Regions from separate parts of the Homo sapiens genome. Here all the other regions are linked to region 1. The links are contacts of gene promoters, found by promoter capture Hi-C in human tissues and cell types (Jung and others, 2019). All regions are on one chromosome and are shown on one strand. The core of a region is centred on a gene start or on the middle of the fragment in contact, and the rest is flanking DNA. Distances in the headings are between cores, read along the strand shown. Region 1 holds the start of TRAP1 (TNF receptor associated protein 1). Region 2 holds the start of PAM16 (presequence translocase associated motor 16). Region 3 holds the start of CORO7 (coronin 7).

Evidence for each region. Contacts are between HindIII fragments. The study calls those that stand out against the background at their distance.
Region 2: the fragment with the promoter of PAM16 here is called in contact with the fragment with the promoter of TRAP1 in region 1 in 6 of the 25 tissues and cell types used here (dorsolateral prefrontal cortex, heart left ventricle, heart right ventricle and 3 more).
Region 3: the fragment with the promoter of CORO7 here is called in contact with the fragment with the promoter of TRAP1 in region 1 in 1 of the 25 tissues and cell types used here (dorsolateral prefrontal cortex).

The regions. Positions count from the first base shown.
Region 1 is chr16:3,715,904-3,718,983 of GRCh38, reverse strand. It overlaps TRAP1 (TNF receptor associated protein 1), which reads left to right and starts at 1,460. Exons shown (of 18, transcript NM_016292.3): 1 at 1,460-1,563. The coding sequence starts at 1,476. RefSeq lists silencers at 1,110-1,719, 1,740-1,859. The HindIII fragment of the contact is 28,184 bases long and covers 1-3,080 here.
Region 2 is chr16:4,350,046-4,352,910 of GRCh38, reverse strand. It overlaps PAM16 (presequence translocase associated motor 16), which reads left to right and starts at 1,590. Exons shown (of 5, transcript NM_016069.11): 1 at 1,590-1,679. The coding sequence starts at 1,677. All of the region lies in intron 27 of CORO7-PAM16 (CORO7-PAM16 readthrough), which reads left to right. The HindIII fragment of the contact is 27,496 bases long and covers 1-2,865 here.
Region 3 is chr16:4,415,293-4,418,245 of GRCh38, reverse strand. It overlaps CORO7 (coronin 7), which reads left to right and starts at 1,650. Exons shown (of 28, transcript NM_024535.5): 1 at 1,650-1,787. The coding sequence starts at 1,728. CORO7-PAM16 (CORO7-PAM16 readthrough) reads left to right here and starts at 1,650. Exons shown (of 31, transcript NM_001201479.2): 1 at 1,650-1,787. The coding sequence starts at 1,728. It overlaps LOC124903635 (a long non-coding RNA gene), which reads left to right. Exons shown (of 3, transcript XR_007064963.1): 3 at 1,285-1,521. The HindIII fragment of the contact is 38,450 bases long and covers 1-2,953 here.

The DNA.
Region 1 (3,080 bases), core at 211-2,710:
TCCCTCCTGGGCTTAAGCAATCCACCCACCTCAGCCTCCCTTGTAGCTGGGATTACAGGCCTCCGCCACCACATCCGGTACAGGTATGTTTGGTACAGACAGGGTCTCACCATGTTGCCCACGCTGCTCTCCAACTCCTGACCTCAAGCAATTCGCCCACCTCGGCATCCCAAAGTGTTGGGATTACAGGTGTGAGTCACCGTGCTCGTGCCCACAACCCCTTATCTTCACCCAGACACTCTTTTTATTGATTCCAGGTCTGTATAACTCAACTCTTTTTTTTCTTTTTTTTGTTTTCTTTTTTTTTTTTTTTTGAGACGGAGTCACAGCTCTGTCGCCCAGGCTGCAGTGCAAGTGGCACGATCTCGGCTCACTGCAACCGCAGCCTCCCGGGTTCACGCTATTCTTCCGCCTCAGCCTCCCCAGGAGCTGGGACTACAGGCACGTGCCACCTTGCCCAGCTAATTTTTTGTATCTTAGTAGAGATGATGGGTTTTCACCATGTTGGCCAGGCTGGTCTCGGACTCCTGACCGCAGGCAGTCCGCCCACCTCAGCCTCCCAAAGTGCTAGGATTACAGGCGTGAGCCACCGCGCCCAACCAGAACTCAACTCTTTTAACCAATTGCCAATCAGAAAGTATCTGAATCCACCTATGACCTCTAAGTATTTCACCCTTTGAGTTGTCCTGCCTTTCCACACGGAACCAACCTATGTCTTACATGCATTGACTGATGTCTTATGTCTCTCTAAAATGTATAAAACCAAGCAAGCTGTAACCCAAGCACCTTGGGCCAAGTTCTCAGGACCTTTTGAGACTGTGCCTCCCTCCATGCACACTCATATTTGGCTCAGAATAACCTTCTAAATACTTTAGAGTTTGACTCTTCTCGACAAGGACAAGAGAAGTGGAATAAACGAATAACCGCAGTTTTCCTGGTGGTATTGGTCACTGGGTTCAGGTTTTGGAGTAGTAGCCAGTCAAGCCTGGAATCCCCTTCCTCATTCGCTTTAGCTTTTTGTCCAGTCTTGGTTTGCAAGAGACTTGCAGCGGCCTAGACGGATGGCCGGGATTCACAAAGGTCGCAGACACGGGAACTGCTTCTTCCCCAGCGTCGCCTCCACACCCTCGCGTGGATACTGACATCCGCCCCATTCCAGGAATGCGCACAGCTAGGCGCAGCCGGCCAGCGTGGGCCGGGGGCGGCGGGGCCACCTCCCCCACCTCCGCGCGCAAGGCCCGTCGCCCTTGACAACGCGATCCAAGGTCACGGAGGTCCCACCCCCAGGCCCGACCGTCCACGAGACGGGTAGTACCCCGCCACGCGCCCGAGCAGGCAGCTGCCCGGACAGCCCGGCGCCCGCCGTGACGTCACCGCCCCGCGCCCGAGGAAGCCCCGCCCCGCGCAGCCCCGTCCCGCCCCTTCCCATCGTGTACGGTCCCGCGTGGCTGCGCGCGGCGCTCTGGGAGTACGACATGGCGCGCGAGCTGCGGGCGCTGCTGCTGTGGGGCCGCCGCCTGCGGCCTTTGCTGCGGGCGCCGGCGCTGGCGGCCGTGCCGGGAGGTGAGGGCGTCCTGGCTGGACGGGCAGCGGGCGGGCCGGGCCACGGAGACGGCAGGGACGTCCCTGTGCTCCGGGGAGCGAGGCGCCGGCACCTGCTTCACAGGCGTGGGAGGTCCGGCGAGGCCAAGCGCGGCAGACGCGTTTACTTTCGCTCCGCTCCTCGCCAGCTCCAGCTTGGCTGCCTTTTCCTCGGCTGGACTCCCCTCGCCACCCGCCCATGGGAGCCCTGAAGGAGGCTGGGTCTTGGGGGGTCGCGGGGTCGGGCGGAGCGGCTGCGGGGTCGTCCCTCCTGGAGCTTCGGTCCAGTCAGGTAGCGCACGTGCAGGTGGAGCCGCTGCGGAGCGCGGAGTCTTTGCGGGTGCATGTTGCGGGGAATGGACTCACTCGGGGTGATCGTGCTAGTTCCATGGATCGTGCTTTACCCCTCCCCGCCTCCCAGTAGCGCACTGAGGGTTCATTTGTTAATTCGTTCATTGGACGCACATGTGAGCGCCCGCTCAGTGCCCGGCGCCGTGCAGGTTCTGGGGACGCCACAGTGAACAAAACCTATAGCAGTCATCCGGGTCCCCAGAGCAGGTGGACTCGATGTCGTTGACGCAGCTGTGTCCTCGGGGCCTGGAATTGATGGATGCGCCAATAAATGTTTGTAAAACAGAGAGAACGACCCTAACCTCTGCTTTCCCAGTCCCCACTCGGAGGTAACAACAGTGAAAGTTTCGGCATTGCTTCGGGGCTGTACACAGTGTTATACGTGTAAATATAAATGTCTGCGTATAAGTATTTTTTATTCTAAAAAGCCTAAACCATGTATGCATTGTGCTACGTTGTACTTCAGAAAATTTTAACGCTCCCAGCATTCTTTCCACATCTTTTCATGTCAGTGTATACAGGTCCATGTGCCTTCCAGTGACCACACAGTATTCTGTATGATGGACGTGTCATTTGTTTAAACATTGTCCTATTAGTGGACGCAATAAAGGTTATTTCAGGTTTTACTTTTTATTACAATGCTGCATAGAATGGGTGAGTACTTAAATATTTGTTCACGTGCGGTATTTCTTTAGCCTTACATAATTAGAATTTTAGAATTGATATTTCAGAGCCTATGCATTTTTGAAATGTTAGCAGATACTGCCAAATTGTCCAAAAAGGCCTTATCAATTTATATCCCCTTTAGCAGGCATCAAGACTGCCTATTCCAAAGGTATTTTCTTCAACGCTGAATCTTATGTCTTTTCAAAACCAGTGGTCTATAAAAGATACCTTGTGGCCGGGCGCGGTGGCTCACGCCTGTAATCCTAGCACTTTGGGAGCCTGAGGTGGGCAGATCAGGAGTTCAAGACCAGCCTGGCCAACATGGTGAAACCCTGTCTCTACTAAAAATACAAAAATTAGCTGGGTGTGGTGGCGCGCGCCTGTAATCCCAGCTTCTTGGGAGGCTGAGGCAGGAGAATCGCTTGAACCCAGGAGGCAGAGATTGCAGTGAGCTGAGATTGCACCACTGCACTCCAGCCTGG
Region 2 (2,865 bases), core at 341-2,840, 630 kb before region 1:
ACCCAGGAGGTGGAGATCGCAGTGAGCCAAGATTGGGCCACTGCTCTCCAGCCTGGGTGACAGAGCAAGACTTCATCTCAAAAAAAAAAAAAAAAGGAAAAATAATTTAAAAATAAAAAACCGGTTGGGCACAGTGTCACATGCCTATAATCCCAGCACTTTGGGAGGCTGTGGCGGGTGGATCATTTGAGACCAGTAGTTCAAGACCAGCCTGGCCAACATGGTGAAACCCTGTCTCTACTAAAAATTCAAAAATTAATGGGGCATGGTGGTCCATGCCTGTAATCCCAGCTACTCAGGAGGCTAAAGCATGAGCATCGCCTGAACCTGGGAGGTGGAGGTTGCAGTGAGGCAGGATTGTGCCACTGGACTCCAGCCTGGGCGACAGGGTGAGACCCTGTCTCAAAATGATAAATAAAATAAATAAGTAAATTATGTGGTATGGTAGAGGGTGATCAGAGTCTTGGAAGAAAAATAGAGACAAGAAGGGAGGATAAGCCAGTCACAAAAGGCTGCACATTGTATGATTCAATTTCTTCTTTTTTTTCATTTTTCATTTTTACCTTTTTTTTTTTTTTTTTTTTTTTTGAGGCAGGGCCTGACTCTGTCACCCAGGCTGGAGTGCAGTGATCACAGCTCACTGCAGCCTGTACCTCCCGGGCTCAAGAGATCCACCACTCAGCCTCCCAAGTAGCTGGGATTACAGGCACCTGCCACCACACCCGGCTAATTTTTGTATTTGTAGAGATGGGGTTTCACCATGTTGCCCAGCCTGGCCTTGAGTTCCTGACCTCAAGCGATCCACCTCGGCCTCCCAAAGTTTTGAGATTGCAGGCATGAGCCACCACGCCTGGCTTGTATGATTCCATTTCTATGAAATGTCCGGAACCTGTGAATCCATAGAGAGAAAAATGAGTGGTTGACAGGGGCTGGGGGAGGGGGCTGGGGAGTGACTAATGGGTGATGAAAACGTTCTGGAACTAATAGTGGTGACAGTGGCACAGCTCTGTGAATAAAAGGCATTGGACTGTGCACTTGAAAATCATGAAATCTACAGTGTATGGATTATATCTCAATAAAGCTGTTACTTTTTTCATTCATGGAGGGCAAGTCACGGCGTTTTAAGGGGTCCAGGTGGGCCTCATTGAGGTGACATTTGAGCAAAGATTTGAAGAAGGGAACGAGCTTCTCAGGCAGGAGGAATGTGGATGAAACCTATTTTGAAGTTTTCTATTTTCTAAAGTATTTTTGAGAATTTAGCATCCTACTCCATATTATGTTCATTGATTTCATATAATGTTGCATTCCCAAATATTTTGGCAAAATCAAGGGCAGAAATCGCCCCACGTCTGACCGATGTGCTTAGCTGCTCCAGCGCACTGGGGTAAGCACGCGGGCAATTGAGACTCCCGGTAACGCCCCTTGCCCTCCCAAGCCCGCCCCCAGTTATCCAGAGCCCGACGCAGGCTCAGTCAAACCCCGCCTCCGACCCCGCCCCGAGCCGCTAAGACGCTCCCGGTGGCCCGCCCTTAGACTGAGGCAATGCGCATGCCCAGCGCCGTATCGCGCACGCGCTCTCTGCGGCTTTCCTTGACCTCTGACCCGCCGACCACGCTTGATCCCCGGCCGCGGGGCCAGGAAGTCGGAGTTTGAGCCCCGGAGGCAGAGCGGCTGCCATGGTGAGCCCCGAGTCGGGCGCTACCGGGGAGGGGAAGCCGAGTCGGGCCGGGGGCCGGGGGCCGGGCGGCGAGCTCCGGGCTGGGCGGCGGGCGCCGTGCGCCCCCTGCGTGCCCGGCGGGAAGCATGGTCTGGGGGCGTTGCACCCGGGGGAATCGAGGCCGGCAGCGGCGGCACCGGCGGCCTCAGGGCCAGGGAAAACCGTCTGCCTGGAAGAGGCCGGGCAAACGTGGTCGCGCTGTGCCTAGCCCGCGTGTGAGCGAGCAGCCGTGGGCAGCGGTGGAGCATGAGTCTGGCTGGTGAGCGCCTCCCCTGCCCTGGAACCTTACAGCGCTGCAGAGTCGATGTTGCTGCCCTGTTGTTATCCCCAGTGGAAAGCTGGCCTTTCCAGGGAAGTGGCTGACCTGGGACTTGAACTAGGCCCCGAGACACCGAGCACGGAGCGTTTGTGTGATATCGTTGGCACGTAGAGCCAGTCAACAGACCTGCGCCACACTGTCAGGTCACCTAGGGTAGCTTTAAAAGTGCAGGTTTGGCTGGGCGCGGTGGCTCACGCCTGTAATCCCAGCACTCTGGGAGGCCGAGGCGGCGGATCACGAGGTCAGGAGTTCGAGACCAGCCTGGCCAACATGATGAAACCCGGTCTCCACCAAAAAATTTAAAAAATTAGCCGGGTGGGGTGGTGCGCGCCTGTAGTCCAAGCTACCCGGGAGGCTGAGGCAGGACAGACGCTTGAACCCGCGAGACAGAGGTTGCAATGAGCCGAGATCCGCCAGTGCACTCTAGCCTGGGCGACAGGGTGAGACTGCGTCTCAAAAAAAAAATTATATATATGTATTATATATACCGTATACATTTATGTATACTACATATTATTATGTTATATATATTTTTATATATCATGTATTTTATATATATATATACACACACACACACATAATATATACATATGTTAGCCAGGCATGGTGGCACACACCTGTAATCCCAGCTGCTTGGGAAGTTGAGGCGCCAGTATCGCTTGAACCCAGGAGGCAGAGGCTGCAGTGAACCAAGATTGTGCCACTGCACTCCAGTCTGGGCGACAGGGCAAAACTCTCTCAAAAAGAAAAAGAGGGGGAAAAAAAAAGTTCAGGTTCTTGAGCTCTATCCCTGGAGGTTCTGCACACGTAAGTTCCCCAAGTGACTCTG
Region 3 (2,953 bases), core at 401-2,900, 700 kb before region 1:
TCAGCCTCCCAAGTAGCTGGGATTACAAGCACCCACCACCACGCCCAGCTAATTTTTATATTTTTAGGACAGACAGGGTTTCACCATCTTGGCCAGGCTGGTCTTGAACTCCTGACCTGGTGATCCACCCACCTTGGCCTCCCAAAGTGCTGGGATTACAGGCGTGAGCTACCGCGCCCGGCCAACCTGATGATTTTCTAAAAACCTTTTTGGACTGGGCGCAGTGGCTTATGCCTCTAATCCCAGCACTTTGGGAGGCTGAGGCAGGTGGATCACTTGAGGTCAGGAGTTTGAGACCAGCCTGGCCAACATGGCAAAATCCCATCTCTACTAAAAATACAAAAATTAGGAGTAGTGGCGCACACCTGTAATCCCAGCTGCTTGGGAGGCTGAAGCAGGAGAATCGCTTGAACTCAGGAGGTGGAGGTTGCAGTGAGCTGAGATGACACCACTGCACTCCAGCCTGGGCAACAGAGTGAGACTCTGTCTCAAAACAAACAAACAAAAAGCCTTTTCAATAAACCACAAGTGACTTTGGTTCACAGTAAATACACTTCTGCCCGAACTAAGATAAAATGTAAGCATTGCTTTTCAAACCTTAGAAATGCAAGAATCAGCTGGGTGCGTTGGCTCATTCCTATAATCCCCACACTTTGGCAGGCCAAGTTGGGAGGACTGCTTGAGTCTCGTTCGAGACCAGCCTGACCATCATGGTGAAACCCCGTCTCTTACTAAAAATAAAAAATTAGTTGGGCGCGGTGGCAGGCGCCTGTAATCCCAGCTATTCGGGAGGCTGAGGCAAGAGAATTGCTTGAACCCGCGAGGCAGAGGGTGCAGTGAGCTGAGATCGCGCCACTGCACTCCAGCCTGGGTGACAGGGACTCCGTGTCAAATAAATGAATAAATACTAAAGAAAAATTAAAAGCTATTATTATTATTATTTTTAGAGGCAGGGTCTCTTTCTGTCTCCCAGGCTGGAGTGCAGTGGCACGGTCACAGATAACTGCAGCCTCGACCTCTTGGGCTCAAGGGATACTCCTGCCTCAGTCTCCCAAAGTTCGGGATTACAGACCTGAGCCACCGCGCCTGGCCGGATGCAGAGCGCCTGGCCGGATGCAGAGGCTTTTGAGTAGGCCCGGTGGACAGGGATTTGCTTTAGACCTGGGCCCCTGTTCCCCCTCTGCCTCTTACCACTGGTGTGACCTGGGGACCGACAGTTTACACTCTCCTTTAGCCGGGGGTTTCCTGTCTCTGAAATGGAGCTAATTTCTCCCCTCTCTACAGGAAGAGGTAGATAGTGCTGGAAGGCGTGCTAGGTACACCGCAAAGACTCCACAGCAAATCCTGCACACAAAATCGCGAATGCTGCAGCCGAGACCCCACGCAAGCAAGCACCGCAGGAGACGTGGGCTGACAGCTGCGCCCCACGTGACCTCCCACCCGCGCCAGTCCGTCCCCTCGGTATCAGGGCGTGGCCTCGCGGGGCGGCCGTACCTGGATTGGCCGGGAGGCGGGACCGGTGGTGCGCGCGCGAAAGGAGAGGGGCTTGGGGGCGTGGCCCAGGGGGCCGGAGACGGCTGCGATTGGCAGTGGGGCGCGCCGGGGGCGTGACCGCGGCATTGGGTCCCGGGTGGGGCCGAGGCAGCGGGAGTCGCGGTTGCTCAGCGTGCACCTGAGACCCGACGCCCGGGGTCCTCGAAGACGCGTCCGCCGCCGTGCCCGTCGCCATGAACCGCTTCAGGGTGTCCAAGTTCCGGCACACCGAGGCTCGGCCGCCCCGCCGCGAGGTGAGTCCGGCCCGAGGACCGGGCGCTGTCGCCTCGGGCCCCGTCCGGCTGCCCCTCCCCCTGCCCGGACCCCACAGGGGTGCCCTCCAGGGCCGTCTGGAACCCCGAGACCTCCATCCCCGGGGAACCCCCCTTCAGGCCAGGGCCCCGGCGTCCGGGCCGTTTCGTCGCCGCCGGAGGGCAGAGTCCGGCACTCCCGTGACTCGCTCTGGCGCTCGGTGACCCTGGCGGTCTGCCCGCCTCGCCCACCTCGCCCCGGGACCCCCGAGGCGGCGCAGCCCTCCTAGCCGGGGCCCAGGCCTGCGAGGCCGCCTGCCTTCCCAGCTTCCGGTCGGCCTCGCCGGGAGCCGGGGCTCGGGGCGCTGCCGGCGCCTGGCTCCTCCTCCCTGCCGCCCCGGGTCGCCCCTGCCCCTGGCTGGGCTGTGGGGAGACGCCCCTCTCTCCTCTGGCCCCGGCGAGCCCAAGTGTGTCAGTGGTGGGGAGGGAGCCCCTCGGCCGCACGCGCCCCTCCCTCGGGTTTCCGCCGGTGCTTCCTCCTCTCGCCGCTGGCGCAAGCTCTTTCTTTATCTCGGTGATGCTGCCACGGCTGGGTGGGGCCTGGGGAAGCCTGAGCAGGTGGAGCCCCAAAGAATTGCTGAGCCAGGTGCCGGGAGACCCTTCGGACCCCCGAAACGGCAGGAGGACTGATGAGGGGTGCGCCTTGGAAACGATGTCAGCTCTGCTCTTCCGCTTTCCGTGTTATTTGTAAGGCCTGGGAGTGTCCTCCGATAACTGGGCCTAGGAGTTGACCTCAAGTGACCCCATCAGGGTCCCAGAGCAAGTCAGGGCAGTCTGGGTAGAGGTTCCGTTTTTGTAGTGTGGACTATATTTCCTCTGCTTCCACTTTATGCTGTGCTAAGCTGCTGGAGACATCCCGGTGAACACAACGGCATTTTCCTTCCCCTGTGGCACTTGTAGCCTCATGAGGGAGACAGCAAGCAGACAAACAAGAGCATTGGAGGTTTTCATAACGACATTGAAGAACACACATGAGGGACTGGGATGGAGAATGGAGGGGGCCAGTCTCAGTAGCGTGGTCAGGAAAGGCTGCCTGGAGTAGATGGCATTTTAGCTGAGGCCAGAAGGGTGAGAATTGAGAAAGAGCCTGGTGGAGAAATGGAAAGTGA